Linked DNA regions of Homo sapiens: regions 2, 3 and 4 are each linked to region 1. Evidence: promoter capture Hi-C in 16 types of primary human blood cells and fetal thymus (Javierre and others, 2016). All regions are on one chromosome and are shown on one strand. The core of a region is centred on a gene start or on the middle of the fragment in contact, and the rest is flanking DNA. Distances in the headings are between cores, read along the strand shown. Region 1 holds the start of CRP (C-reactive protein). Region 2 has its middle 43 kb from the start of ACKR1. Region 3 overlaps LOC124904433 (a long non-coding RNA gene). Region 4 has its middle 4.7 kb from the start of ACKR1.

Region 1 (3,617 bases), core at 611-3,110:
AGCCCCACAAGGTTCGTGTGGAAAAGGGGAGGAGTTTCCCAGAAGAGCCATAAAATTAAGAAAGCACTGCAAGCAAACAAAAACCAGTCATTTAAGTTCTTGGCAGTAACAACATATTTATACCTAGTGCTTCATTTTGCTCTGGAAAAAAAGCAGATCTGCTCTGCTGGGGCAATTCTAATGGCCTTTCCAGTGTGCTTTGAGAAAGTGGAGGGACTGCGTGGTATTGCTGGGCTTCCCATTTCAGGAGACCTGGGCCCAGCAGTTCTATGACATGATGATGAGCACTCTGGACCCAAACCAGACACCTGGCCAGTGTCCTGATTCTGAGACTGAAGAGCCCTGTGAATGTGGGCAATGCCCTCCTGCTTTCTGGGGGTCATGGGTGGGGAATTAAATAGAAGATCAGCGCTTCCTTCTCAGCTCTTGCCTTATGAGTTTTTTATAACATCATTTCTCCTTTCTGGGTGTTAGTTTTCTCATCTATGTGAGGTAAGAAATTATCTCCAAGATCTGTCCAACTTGAAATAAAAATGAAAACAAAACACCTCAAATTCTGATTCTTTTGGACCGTTTCCCAGCATAGTTAACGAGCTCCCAGACCAGACACTTTACCTCCATTCTCAGGCGCTGAGGAGGGTGGAGCAGGCCTGCAATGCATATAGGGGAACAAAGGCCCAGAGACAGAGACGTGGGAACCATGCAGTGTAAAAAAGCGGGAGGTACCAGAGACAGAGACGTGGGGCCCATGCGGTGTAAAAAACCGGGAGGTACCTTCAGGACCCACAGCTGGGCCTCAGGGCCACAGCTGGGGTTTGGTGAACACTTCGCCTTGCACTTCATACTTCAGTGCCCGCCAGTTCAGGACATTAGGACTGAAGGGCCCGCCAAGATAGATGGTGTTAATCTCATCTGGTGACAGCACAAAGTCCCACATGTTCACATTTCCAATGTCTCCCACCAGGGACTGGCTTCCTTCAAAGTTCCCACCGAAGGAATCCTGCTCCTGCCCCAAGATGATGCTTGCTTCTGCCCCCACAGTGTATCCCTTCTTCAGACTCTTCCTCACCCTGGGCTTCCCATCTACCCAGAACTCCACGATCCCTGAGGCGGACTCCCAGCTTGTACAAATGTGTACTGGAGCTACTGTGACTTCAGGAACCTCGAATAATATTTCAGACCCACCCACTGTAAAACTGTATCCTATATCCTTAGACCAAAATATGAGAATCTCATTGTCTTGTCTCTTGGTGGCATACGAGAAAATACTGTACCCACGGGTCGAGGACAGTTCCGTGTAGAAGTGGAGGCACACAGTGAAGGCTTTGAGAGGCTTCGTTAACGGTGCTTTGAGGGATACATAGGAAGTATCCGACTCTTTGGGAAACACAAAAGCCTTCCTCGACATGTCTGTGAGCCAGAAAAACAAGCAAATGTGAGAGGTTTCTCAGATCACACAGATCTATCCCCTCACTTACGTATAGAATTTAAGATTGAGAAACAGACTGACCCCTTCTCCAGTTACACACCACACACACACACACACACACACACACACACACACACACCATGAAGGATGCTCCACTGTTCTGTTCATACAGTCTTTTTTTTTTTTTTTTGAGACTGTTCATGCAGTCTTAGACCCCACCCCCATACCTCAGATCAAATCTCTCCCATAGCCTGGGGTGGCCCTTACCTGTCTGGCCAAAAGCATGAGAGAGGCTGGTCAAGACCAAGAAACACAACAGCTTCTCCATGGTCACGTCCTGCTGCCAGTGATACAAGGGCCTGAATTCACTCCTTTGGAAAAGATGTATTCGGCTGAAAGTTCAGGGGCTAGAAGTCCTAGATCTCTTGCCTTAGAGCTACCTCCTCCTGCCTGGATTTATATCCAAAGCAGTAAGGGAGTTTGCGCCACTATGTAAATAATTTTCCAACATTGCTTGTTGGGGCAGGTGTCAGAGCTTCGGGAAGAGGGGAAGCAAAATTATTTCAGAACAGAGAAATCAATGTGAGTTATTTATTACAAACTCCTATGACTACTGAATTACCAATTCTTTATGACAGGAAAAATGAAGAAATCTCTCAGGGCTCCACTTTGGCTATCTATCCTGCGAAAATAATGGGAAATGGTAACATATTAAACGAGTGGCCATCTGGGTGCACGTGGTAGCTGCCTCTCCAACACCTACTTCAGCCCAAATCATAGAGTTTGACAAAGGAAATCTGACAGCTTCTGGAGATGGACATTATCACTAACCCCTTTCAATTTGCTTATTTACAGACTGGGAAATGAGGAAAACAAACATGCTCCTCCCAGAGCCATGGACACATTTTTTTATTATTATTATACTTTAAGTTTTAGGGTACATGTGCACAATGTGCAGGTTAGTTACATATGTATACATGTGCCATGCTGGTGTGCTGCACCCATTAACTCATCATTTAGCATTAGGTATATCTTCTAATGCTATCCCTCCCCCCTCCCCCCACCCCACAACAGTCCCCAGAGTGTGATGTTCCCCTTCCTGTGTCCAAGTATTCTCATTGTTCAATTCCCATCTATGAGTGAGAACACGCGGTGTTTGGTTTTTTGCATGGACACATTTTCTCAGCCAATTGAGTACACTTATTAAGAACTCTCTAGACATCTTGGCACTAAATGACGGCCCTGACAGTAAAAGTCCAGTAAAATGTGTGCCTGATCACAGACATAGCATTATATCAAAGTTTCTTCCAACATTTTTCTCTGAATATGTAAAGCTTCAGGCAGGAGTCAGGATAATCTGATTCTACTCTTTCCTCTATTCACAAGATTCAAGTAATCCCTCCACACTGTCTGTCAATCTTACTACAGTTCCCTACTTAACTCACTCTTCAAAATGACTATTATACTCCTTCTCCTTGCTCCTCAAGTCCCCAAAATCTCATTTATTCTTTCATTCAGCTGATGAACTCACCTTTCATTGAGAAGTTAGAAGCAATCAGAAAAGAACCACCGTATCCTTTGTAGTAGAGTCTTCTAGCCATTCCCTAACATCCATTCTCTACTTCTCATAAGAGAAGAATAACATTTTCAGTTGGGCGCTTGGTCATCCCCTCAAACACCAAATTTCCCAGCCCCCACTGTAGCTTGCAGTGATGATGTGATTAAATTAAGGCCAACGAGATATGAACAGAATAGGGACCATCTCTAGGTTGTGCTCTTTAAGAAAGGTATGTGCTTTCCCCTCCCACTTCCCCCTTTTTCCCTTTGACTAGTATTCAGTCATGATAGCAGGAGATGGAATAGTTCACTTTCAGGCCAGCAAGTGTAAGCTGCATGTTGAGGTTGGCATGGCAACAAGATAGATGGAGCCTGGATAATTGGGTATGGAGCCACTGCATCAGCTCTAGGCTGCCTACCTGAAAATTTACTTAAAGGAGAAATACTCTCCTCTTTTGTTAAATCACTGTTAACTCAGTCTTTCTGTTCTTAACACCTAACTGATATCCTTATATATCCTCCTACAACCCAATGTACCAGCCTTTCTGTCTTCCTCTATTAAAAGGGATGAGCTCTCCCTGTGTTACATCTAAGGCCAACCCTTGCAATTCTTCAGTGGATCCCAGACCCT
Region 2 (3,472 bases), core at 940-3,439, 470 kb before region 1:
CTGAAATATGACTCTGGCTTACTTAATCATTGAGTTTTGTGCTTTTATATGGTTTGTGTTACTAATTAGTGGCCTTTTGACACAGCTTAAAGAATTCCCTTTAGTAATTCCTGTCAGGCAGGTCTAGTGGTGGTGAATTTCTTATTTCTGAAGGATAGCTTAGCTGGGTAAAATATTCCTGTTTTTGTTTGTTTGTTTGTTTTTGTTTTGTTTTGTTTTCCCTTCAGCACTTTAAATATATCATCTCATTCTTTCCTGGCCTGCAGCGTTTCTACTGAGAAATCTGTGAAGTGTTGTATTGGGACTCCCTTGTATGTGTTTCCTATCTGTTGCTGCTTTTAGAATTTTTTCTTTGTCTTTTATTTTTGATAGTTTGATTATTATGTGTCTTGGTGAACCTTTTTATGGGTTTAATTTGTTAGTTTATTTGGGTGATGCCATGAATTTCTGATTATTTTTAATTCTTGTGCCCTTATGTTGGTGTCTGCACATTTGAAGAGACAACCACCTCTTCCAGATTTTACAAGAATTCTTTGACAGGGATAGACTTTTCCTTATTTAGTCTAACCTGTGATTTTGAATGGACCAGCTGGTAATAATCTTGTGCAGACAGAGCTTGTTTTTGAGTTCTCTAGGTAGCTGCTTGGATTTTGGGTGTGGCTGCTGGTTGGGCTAATCTGTCAGGAGAGACCACTGGCTGAGACATGCAATCAGACAGATCTGCTGGATGTACATTGCAATGATCTCAGATCAGCCTGGGCCACAAGGTGTATTCTCTGGCCAAGTGGTACTGTTGTTTGAGATCTGCAGCTGGATGGGGTTTCAGGCTTGGCTCTGAGGTTAGGCAGAGTAGCTGCTCAAATGGAGCATGCTTGAGTGTGGCAGAACTAGCCACTGCACTTTGCTGAAGTGTTCTGTTTGGTTGTCTCCATCCCTGGACAGGGTCTTGGGCAAGCTTTGAGGCTGTGCTAAATGCTGTATAAACTGGATCCCACTCTTTTCCAAATTGTGCTGGGACAAGCATCTCTCTCCCTGGGTTGAGGGCCTTGTGGTAGGGTCTGAGACTAAGCCTGGAGGCTCGCCATCTAGGGATTCAAGCTAGGTAGGACTTTCCATCACTTCTGGGAGTGACCAGCTCAGCTTTGTGGGTAGGTGATGCTGTTGGCTTGTATCTCTGATCAGGTACCACCACTGGAAGGTACACAGAGCTATCAGCAAGGTTTGTTCAGTGTTCATGCTGTTACCCGCTGTACTCCTTGTGAGGTGAGACCACAGCGGGCTTCCTGGGAAGCGTCTCAGAATTCTAGGGAAGCTGGATGTCCAACTCCAGTTCTCTTTTCCCACTGTTGAAACTGAGCCTTGGGGAATCCTCTCTGTGTGGTACTTTGCTGACTCATGGAATGGGCAGGGGTGATGGGGTGATGCAATCAGTGAGGCCATTTTACTTAACCCCTTTTGTGGTCTTTATTTAGTTCTGTTGTCCACACTGTTTTCTCAAGCTTATTCTCAAGTACTGGAGTTTTCACAAAGGCATCCTTGTCTGTGGATAATTGTTAGTTGAACTTTCTATGGGGGGTAGTGAAGCCTGTGACCTCTTATTCTGCTATCTTGCTGATGTCACCAGCTAAATCTTTATTAATTAATCAATGAATAAAATATATACAGAGTGAGACAAAGGGAAAAAATTAAGCAGAAAGTATGTAGTGAGGGGAGAAGCAAAGAGGGAAGAGTTGAGTTGCCCACATGGAAGACTTATAGAACTGCTATTAGTTTATCGCACCTACTTTGAAATGAGTACGTTTGTTGTTGTATTTTGAAGTAGTAATGAATAATGTGTCAGCCACTCGTGGGGTCCAAATGTTTGGCTGCTTTATCCTCTTCTTCCTTCTCACCTATTCTTAAAATAATAATCTATAAATTGAGGTGATCCAGACATACCTCTGTCCTGAAAACCTGATGAAGCCTCACTATCGTCCAAAAAAAAAAAAAATTGCAAAACTTGGACCACCCTAAGTATTTAATTTAATATTCCCCATTTGTCTAGTATACAGATATGATAGCACAACTAGGGATACGATGGTTGTATAAAATATTTTGCCTCCCATGAAAAGCTTATATTTAAAGAGACAGCCCATCTATCCAAAAACATTAGTCAACTATTACTAGATAGTATTTGGTTAAGTGAAAGTTGAGTGAAAAAAAAAACAACAAAAAATAGAATTTAGACCCAGACTGAAGTGAGCTCAGTGTGAGCTGAAGACTTCAAATAAAGCTTCAAAGAAGAAGTGATGTTAACAGAAACTCTGAAATTATTGTATTATTTGTATTGATTTGATATTTTTCCTTGGATTTTATTCTAAGAAAAAGCTAGCCTGTGCCAAATTGCAGAGTGCCTCACAAAGTCTGAATGTATGTACCTGCCAAATCTCATGTTGAATCATGATCCCCAGTGTTGGAGGTAGGGCCTGGAGGGAGGTGTTTGGATTGTGGGGGTGGATCCCTCATGAATGGCTTAGGCTATCCCCTTGGTGATAAGCGAGCTCTTGCTCTGAGTTCCCATGAGATCTGATCATTTAAAAGTGTGTGACATCTCCTCCCCCAGCTGACTCTCTCTCTTTTCCTCCTGCTTGTGCCATGTGGAGTGCCTGTTCCCACTTTACCTTCTGCCATAATTGTGCTTCCTGAGGCCTCCCCAGAAGCTGAGCAGATGCTAGCACCATGCTTCCTGTAAAGCCTATAGAACCAATTAAACCTCTTTTCTTTATAAATTACCCAGTCTCAGGTATTTCTTTATAGCAATGCAAGAAAAGCCTAATACAGCACCCTTTAAAAAGGTAGTAAAAAATCTGGTCTTCAAAAGTAGATTAGCTGGCTTTCAGTTCCAACATGCAAAAGCTTAGAAGTCATCAGTTCCATTCTATCAACAACAGCAACAACAAAGAAGATAAATAAACAAAATTAGCAGCTTTTCATGAATACCTCAGAAAACTGAGATTGCAGGGCAAATTGCCACCCCTAAATCTGGAAAAACAGGTGAATCCAGAGAACCACATGAAGACAGCTTACTGCTGGGGAAGCCCTGGAGCCATAAACTGGAACACTTAAACAACAATTTTGACAAATTTCAGAAGGCTAATGTGAGAATTATCCTGAGAATGAGAAACTCCTAGGTGCTGCAATCTTAGGGGCACCCACATACTTTTGTGAGTTTTATCTCCAGACACCACACAGTGTTCTTATGGTGAAGAGCGGTCAGAAAAAATTCATGGCTCAGGTAGAAGGAGGGAAAGAATAACTTGTAGAATACAACCTGACTGTTCTTCATAGCAAAGACTTACTCTCCAGGGGTAAAGATTTATCAGAGCCTTATCCCACCTAGGGGAAAATAATTTCTCTCACTCTAGCCCTCTCTAGCATTCCTATTTCACCTGAGTGAGGAGAGAGGACAAGACACCCTTGTGAAGGTCACATT
Region 3 (3,556 bases), core at 28-2,527, 370 kb before region 1:
CTGATCATCCAGGCTTGAAGCTTTCAATTTCTCCTACTAGACCTTTTGGAGAGGTTCTAATCTCAGGGTTTTTTTGTTGTTGTTGTTTATTTTATTTATTTATTTTCTTTTCATGTTCAAATACACCAGCTAAAAGGAGAATTTCTCTCATTTCCTCTGCCAAGTTTGCAAAAAGTAAGTGGTTATTGATAGGAAAAAAAGGAGAGGAAACTTGATTTTAAATTTTCTGATATACTTCCTTTTTCTCTTCAGTTTTCTGATTATTTTTGTGATATTAGAATTTCATAATTTCCCTGTATCTTGCATGATGGCTGATTGAGAGCTGATGACTTATAAAGTGAAATATAGTATTCTTACAAGCTTTATGTTTAAATAATAAAATCAGCTGCAGAAAATCTTGGAGGGAAGAGTGAATAAGACAACTTTCATAACTCCCAGAATTGTCATCTGTTCCTGATGTCCCTGGCATCTTTTGAGTCAATAAGGCTGAGATGCAGTTTTCATACAGCTATTGTCTCCTTCTTCTCTTACCTGAACACCTTGCCTGAAAATTCATTCAGTAGGGCATTGATCTGTTGGAAATGCATGGGATTTGGAGTTAGAAATATCTTTGTTTCACACCTGCAACTGCCAATTACTAGATCTGTGAGTCGGACTTAAGTAGCTTATCCCACTGAAGTAGCTTATCCCACTGAGCCTCAAATTCTCCACCTACCAAATGGGAGTATTTTATTTCCTTGCAGAGTAATCACTAGCCTTTAGGCTGGTGTATGTTAACCAAATGTTTGTTTCTGCATTTTATTTTCTAACTCCTCAGCCATTTAGAGTATAAGGGCTACCTTCATTTTTCCATCAGCTTTGAGAGTCTATATGCTCCGTTGACACCCCTTATCTATCATGCACAGTCCTGGTCAGATTACTGTTCCTGCCCCTTTTCAGCAACAATGCATGGGGGCATCAGGATCACTACTTTCAGAAAAATGTACTCAGCATAATGTGTGTGTGTGTGGGGGGGGGGCGGGCGGAGGGGTGTGAGAGAGAGAGAGAAAGAGAGAGAGAGAGAAAAAGAGAGAGAGATAGGTGGATGTGAATTAGACTGAGGCTAAGGATTCTAGACAGATAGATACTAGACTTGCCATAGCAGAGAACAATTAAAAGGAACACCATTTTCCTCTGAGCCTCACCCTCCTATCAGATGATAGTAGCTACGTCAGGAACTATGAGGAAATTAGGTAACAATTACACAGTCCATGTTCCTGCCTCTTCACAGAGACATCAAAAGCAACTCAGAATAAGATACAATGATTCCCTTTTTAAAAAATGTCTTCCTAAAGAAGGTTCATTCACTTCTGTATATCAGTGTTTCATGTATCAGTATCTCAGCTGAGATAAAAATATTTTTTTCTTCCAGTAATGAAATTTTTTTAATAGCAAAGGACTCAGTGTTCAGGGTCAAGAGAGCTGAGTTTCCAAGTTAGCTCTGCCATGAACTAAATGTGTGATATTCCTTTTTCCTTTTTGGAATTCAGTTTTCTCACTTTTCTACCACATAGTTATTTCTGATAGATTTATTATGACTTTGAAGAATAAAGAAAACTGTAAAATGCAAAAAACATTCATATACGTTTTTACCATCTTTTTAGAGAAAAGAGCTATTCACAAAAACTTAATTTAAGAATTGGAAAACTAACTCAGAATAATTATTCATGTCCCTTCTTAATGATAATCGTTTGTCAGCATTTAGTTTATCTCTCCATCTTTTCCTATATTGCCCTTTCATGTCTTTTAGCTCTAGCAGCTTCTCAGCTTCTGCAACTTAAAGAGCTTTGTGGATTTTATCCTTTCCTATCTATCTGTATGCCAGTTTTTCTGTCTTTCTTTTGCTTGGGTGCTTCATATGCTCCACATGCCTGCAATTTCCCTAAAGGAAGAGTCCATATTCTCTACCTCTCACTACCCTATAGTTCTATAGTCTAGATTTTCACTTAAATACATTTCTTGGTTTCTGTGTGCCCAAAGAAGTGTTTCTGTGTATATCTGGCAGAAGTGAGGGTCTCTTTCTTCAGACTAGAAGTATCTCAAGAGCATTCCCTTATTCATTAGTTCATTTAACACATACTTATCAAAAACTTAAAATGTGGCAAAAATTAGGATAGCTTTAGCGATATGGAATTGAGAATGATCTCTATAATAAGGAAGCTTAAAATGTAGTTGAAATGTCAGATAATAATTTCAATTGAATGTGACAAGTGCTATTATAGAAGGAATGAAATGCAAAGAGAACCAAGGAGGGAGGGATATCTAGATGGAAAGATGGTTGAGAGAATGGCCTCAAGAAAGGCTTAAAAATTTGAACATACCCTCAACCCCACTGCATAAGTAATACATACTTATCATGGACACTAGGGAAAAATTAGGAGACAGTGGGATCTTACCCATAATTACACCATGCAGAACCATATTCTACTAACATTTAGATCATTTACATTCAGCCTTTCTCTATGCAGATATTCATATAATTGAGATTATTTTGTACATACTATATCATATCCTGCTTCACTTACTATTTTCCACTGAATTATAAAATTATCATATGCATTATGTTTAAAGCTGCATAATACATATTTTTAAAATAATGTTGCATTACTTTTTGTTTACAAATGTTACATATATTCATTTATGAATTCTCTGAGTGTTTTTTCTATGTTCACATATTTACTTATACATGGATATATATCTTTCTTTTGTTTACAATATTGGGATCATATGACCTTTACCATTTTATAATATTTCTTCCATTTAACAATATCGTGAAGAGTTTTCTAGATGTGTAACATTATAAGTTTTATTGTAAAATATGGAATGCATTTAAAAATGTATGCAAAAACATACATTTTAAGAGGAATAACAAAACAAACACTTAGGTCCACTCTACCCAGGCTGAGAATTAGAATATCATCATGAATCTAGAAGCCTCATAAATGCTCCTTTCAGAAACTTTAAATATATGCCAACTAGTCCCTGTCATGAACTTTAGGTTACAGCATTTCCATATTTTTAAAAAATAGGGTATCCCTAAATAATAAATTATCTAATCCTGCCTTCCTTTGAATGTTAAATAAATGGGATACACACACGATGCATGCACACACACACACCATATATAATATATTGAATTTATATATAATCACTCAATCATAATCTCTCTATATAATATATAAATGATGTGCTTCCATTATTCAATATAATCATAATAACTCTGAGATTCATTCATGTTGATTTGAAAAAATGTTATTAGTCCTTTTAATTATCTTTAATATGAGTCAGCAAACTTTTTCTGTAAAGGACTAGTTAGTAATTATTTTAGTCTTCGCAGGCCATGCGGTCTCTGTTGCACCTACTCAACTCTATTATAGTACGAAAGCAGCCATACACAATACATAAACAAATTGATGTGATTGTGCTCCAATAAAACTTTATTTATAAAAACATTTGACTGCTCTGTAGGTTTTGGTTTACCCACCCCTCCTCTGTAGTAATTCACTCAATGCCCTAT
Region 4 (3,539 bases), core at 645-3,144, 500 kb before region 1:
CCAAAGATATGCTATACCTGGTTTCTTTACTAAAATGTTTCTGCTTGACTCTCTGGGCTTGGGAATAGTAGGCGAGTGCGGGAGAGGTGCAGAGATGAGTTAGAATAGCTTAGGCAGGAGGGTGCAAAAGGCTTAGGGAATTTTCCTGGGTGGGTGCCACGACAAGGCCTCTAAATCTCCCACCTCCTGTCTCTTAGCAACCACCAGGTTAGCTCCTGATTGGTTCGTCCTCAATTGAAAGGCGGGATTTAGGGACCGATTGAGACGCGGGAGACATTCTGAAACAGAAAGGAAGGGAGAGAAAATGAAGAGAAAGGAAATAATTTACAAACCTAAATTATGCTCTGGTTTCCAACCACAGTTCATGAATGTGTTCTAGTATTTTTTCCCCCGCTTTTTTTTTTCCAGGCTTCTCTCAATATCCCCCTCCCGTCCTTGACCACTCTTGCAATTCTACCAGATGTTGCTGTCCTCCCTTACAAGGTACTGATTTGGAAGCTGACCTAGTTGAGGGGGAGGAGAGGGCGTTTTTGACTCCCTGAATCTTCCAGTGTCAACCTGATGCAAGGGAGGCTTAATTTAAGACCAGTAGGCTTGTCTTATCTGCCCCCAACCCTGTGCCTCTGGATAGAAATCCCTGGTCAGTCAGTCCAGTTAGAGAGAACCCCAGACTCCTGGGTAATAGCTTGGCAGCTCTCATGGCTTTCACAAGGGAAAGGCAGCTGCAGAAGCCCGAAGCTGCTAAGAGGTTAGGGTGGGCTGGAGACAGTGCCCTACCCCCGCCCCCTGCTACATCCTCCTCATCCCCACCCCCACCGGGATTGCTCCAGGCCTTTTGGGCTGCCCTTTCCCTGCCATTACCTAGGCAGCACTTGGAGAGCTCCTCCTTAAGTCTAACCCGGACCTCAGTCATTTCTTTAAAGCTTTCTTGGGGACCTGCCACCCCATGCATTTAACCCACTGCATGCCATCAACCACTCTAAAATTGGTCTGAGTCTGGCATCTTTTCTGCAACCCTTCAGGAATACAAATCCTGTCTCCTTAAAGCCCTTAAGAATTTAATCTTAGGGTTGGCAGGGACTTTAGCTGTGTATGAGATATTGGGCATCCTAGCTAAAGAAAAAAATCCTCTCAGAAAGATGAGAGCCAGGGAAGCAAGCTCTTGGGAAAACACAGGACCCTGAGGAAGGTCAGTTTGCTTTGCTTTCTAAAGGAGAGAGATCTATTATTCAAGGGAAGTTTGAACATCACATTGACGCTCATAGTTCATTTATTCCAAGCTGAGGCCCCTCCCTTAGGATTTAGAAAACAAATACTTGGTCCTCACACCCTTTTTCCATTCCTATTTCCCTATCCCCCAACCCCATCACCACCTTCCTCCCTCAGAGGAATTCTGATTGAGAACTTCACTGGGATTTCAAACCCAATTCATCGCCAACTCTAATTGCCAGAGATTTGCATGAAAACCATCGTATGCTATCTAATTATTCTGACAACAGCAGCCCGCCGTCTGGGCACAAGGAGAATCGGAGTTTTAATTAACAATAATGCACCTTGCTGACGAATGCGACTGTTTAGGTTAATTAACAAGTCCAAGTCCTTCCAAATCATCTCTAGACATCTAGGTGATTTGGGCAGGAAGGGTGTGGGGAACACAGGGAGGGATGGGGAGTGTTTAAGCATCATTTCTGCAAAAATGCACGTTAGCTTTCTTCTTTCCTGTAACTATTTGGTGAAGGGAAGAGAAACTCTCTAAGAGACTGGCTCTGGAAAATTGGTTGGGGGATTTTGAGAACATCTTCTTTTTTTTTTTTTTTTTTTGAGACAGAGTCTCACTCTGTTGCCCAGGCTGGAGTGTAGTGGTGCAATCTTGGCTCACTGCAACCTCCGCCTCCCAGGTTCAAGTGATTCTCCTGCCTCAGCCTCCTGAGTAGCTGGGATTACAGGTGTGCACCACCACGCCAGGCTAATTTTTTGTATTTTTAGTAGAGACGGGGGGGTCTCACCAGTTTGGCCAGCCTGGTCTCGAACTCTGACTTCAGGTGATCCACCTGCCTCAGCCTCCCAAAGTGCTGGGATCACAGGCGTGAGCCACCGCGCCCGGCGGGAACATCATTTTAAGGGGATGTATCAGACATCTTTATGTTGCACTTAGATTTAGGAAATCTTTTGGATACATTTTTATAAATGAGAAGATTAAGTTCTTATAGCTCTCTAGTATCTCAAAATCATTGCCTGATTGTTTGCAAACTTGGTTTCTAGCATGAAAGTCTCAACTTCCCCATCAATGCCATTTGTCCTCAGCTTTCTCTATATGTTCCTACCACATCTGTGGTCATTTAAAGTTGCCTACTGCTTGTGAACCCGGGAGGTGGAGCTTGCAGTAAGCCGAGATCGCGCCACTGCACTCCAGCCTGAGCGACAGAGTGAGACTCCATCTCAAAAAAAAAAAAAAAAAAAGTTGCCTACTGCCTTTGGTTTCCCAGATAACGTGTCAAGTTTCACCCTTGCCCTCTTCAAAGATAACTGTATTTTTTTTTCCTGGGTAGTTCTCCGTATCATGCAAAAATACATTGTATGTAGCTCCAAACTGTACCTTTCATCTTTCTAGTCTTTCTAAGAGCATGGACCTAGTCTTTTTCCTCTAAATAGGGTATTGCTAATGTTTACGGGATAGGAGGAGGGTTATAGGCCTCTTAGAAAATCCAGTGATAGTAATAAACTTACTCTTTACAAAAATCCAATATTATACCCTAAATTTGGCATCTAGTTCTTCGCTACTGCATTTAAGTTAATCCTGAGTGTTTCTGTACCCTCTGACAGCACTTCCACGATTAGCTGGTGGCCTTGTCTCCCCACAGCTCAAGAAGCTTTATGCTCACGGGTGAATTTTGTTCTTTGAAGGAGCAAATCTGTTTTCCACTCTAAGAGTCTTTGCACTTGATATCTCTTCTGCCCCAAAAGCTCCTTCCTGTGCTCTTTATATGACCAACAACTTCTCGTCCTTGGGGTCTCTGTGCAAATATCACCTCCCTCAAGAGTGACCTTCCCTGACATCCAGTGGAATGTAGCCTGGCCATGCCACACCCAATTATTCTCTACCAGTTCACCTCGGATGTTTCCACTGTAGCATTTATCACATGTTAAAATTTTATTTATTCGTTTATTTGCTTATCAGTTTACTGCTCGTCTACCTCCTCCCTCCAACACTAGAAAAGAAACTTCAACCATGCAAGAGTCCTTTCGCTGACTGGCACATGATCAGAGCTCAGGAAACATCTACTAAATACCCAAGTTAATTTCATGAATAAAGATTCATTGGCCACACTGGAACATTCACAGTCCAGAGAGGGAAGAGGAACAAGTAAGCAAATAATTGATGCAGAAAACTGACCTCTTCTCCCTAAGTCCTCCAGAGCCTCTCCCATGTCATTCCAGTGTCTGGGGGCTGAAGAGGCTGGAGAATCTTCTGTAGATTTCCGGCCTGTGAACCTGTTTTTTTGTGTCAATTCATGGCTGACTGGAGCTGAGGACTTCAC

What was found. The method cuts DNA at HindIII sites, captures the fragments that hold promoters and counts their contacts. A CHiCAGO score of 5 or more calls a contact.
Region 2: a contact is called between a fragment that was not itself captured here and the fragment with the promoter of CRP in region 1, in 5 of 17 cell types (M0 macrophages, total CD8 T cells, endothelial precursors and 2 more). The highest score is 8.6, in M0 macrophages.
Region 3: a contact is called between a fragment that was not itself captured here and the fragment with the promoter of CRP in region 1, in 1 of 17 cell types (M1 macrophages). The highest score is 6.3, in M1 macrophages.
Region 4: a contact is called between a fragment that was not itself captured here and the fragment with the promoter of CRP in region 1, in 1 of 17 cell types (M2 macrophages). The highest score is 5.4, in M2 macrophages.

Annotation. Positions count from the first base shown.
Region 1 is chr1:159,712,729-159,716,345 of GRCh38, forward strand. CRP (C-reactive protein) reads right to left here and starts at 1,861. Exons shown (of 2, transcript NM_000567.3): 1 at 1,697-1,861; 2 at 1-1,410. The coding sequence starts at 1,757. The coding sequence ends at 797. The HindIII fragment of the contact is 4,063 bases long and covers 1-2,761 here.
Region 2 is chr1:159,246,061-159,249,532 of GRCh38, forward strand. No RefSeq gene overlaps it. Among named protein-coding and RNA genes, the nearest start is that of ACKR1, 43 kb to the left of the region's middle. The HindIII fragment of the contact is 161 bases long and covers 2,110-2,270 here.
Region 3 is chr1:159,342,043-159,345,598 of GRCh38, forward strand. LOC124904433 (a long non-coding RNA gene) reads right to left here. Exons shown (of 2, transcript XR_007066672.1): 2 at 3,456-3,556. Among named protein-coding and RNA genes, the nearest start is that of FCER1A, 41 kb to the left of the region's middle. The HindIII fragment of the contact is 1,839 bases long and covers 359-2,197 here.
Region 4 is chr1:159,207,793-159,211,331 of GRCh38, forward strand. No RefSeq gene overlaps it. Among named protein-coding and RNA genes, the nearest start is that of ACKR1, 4.7 kb to the left of the region's middle. The HindIII fragment of the contact is 1,947 bases long and covers 922-2,868 here.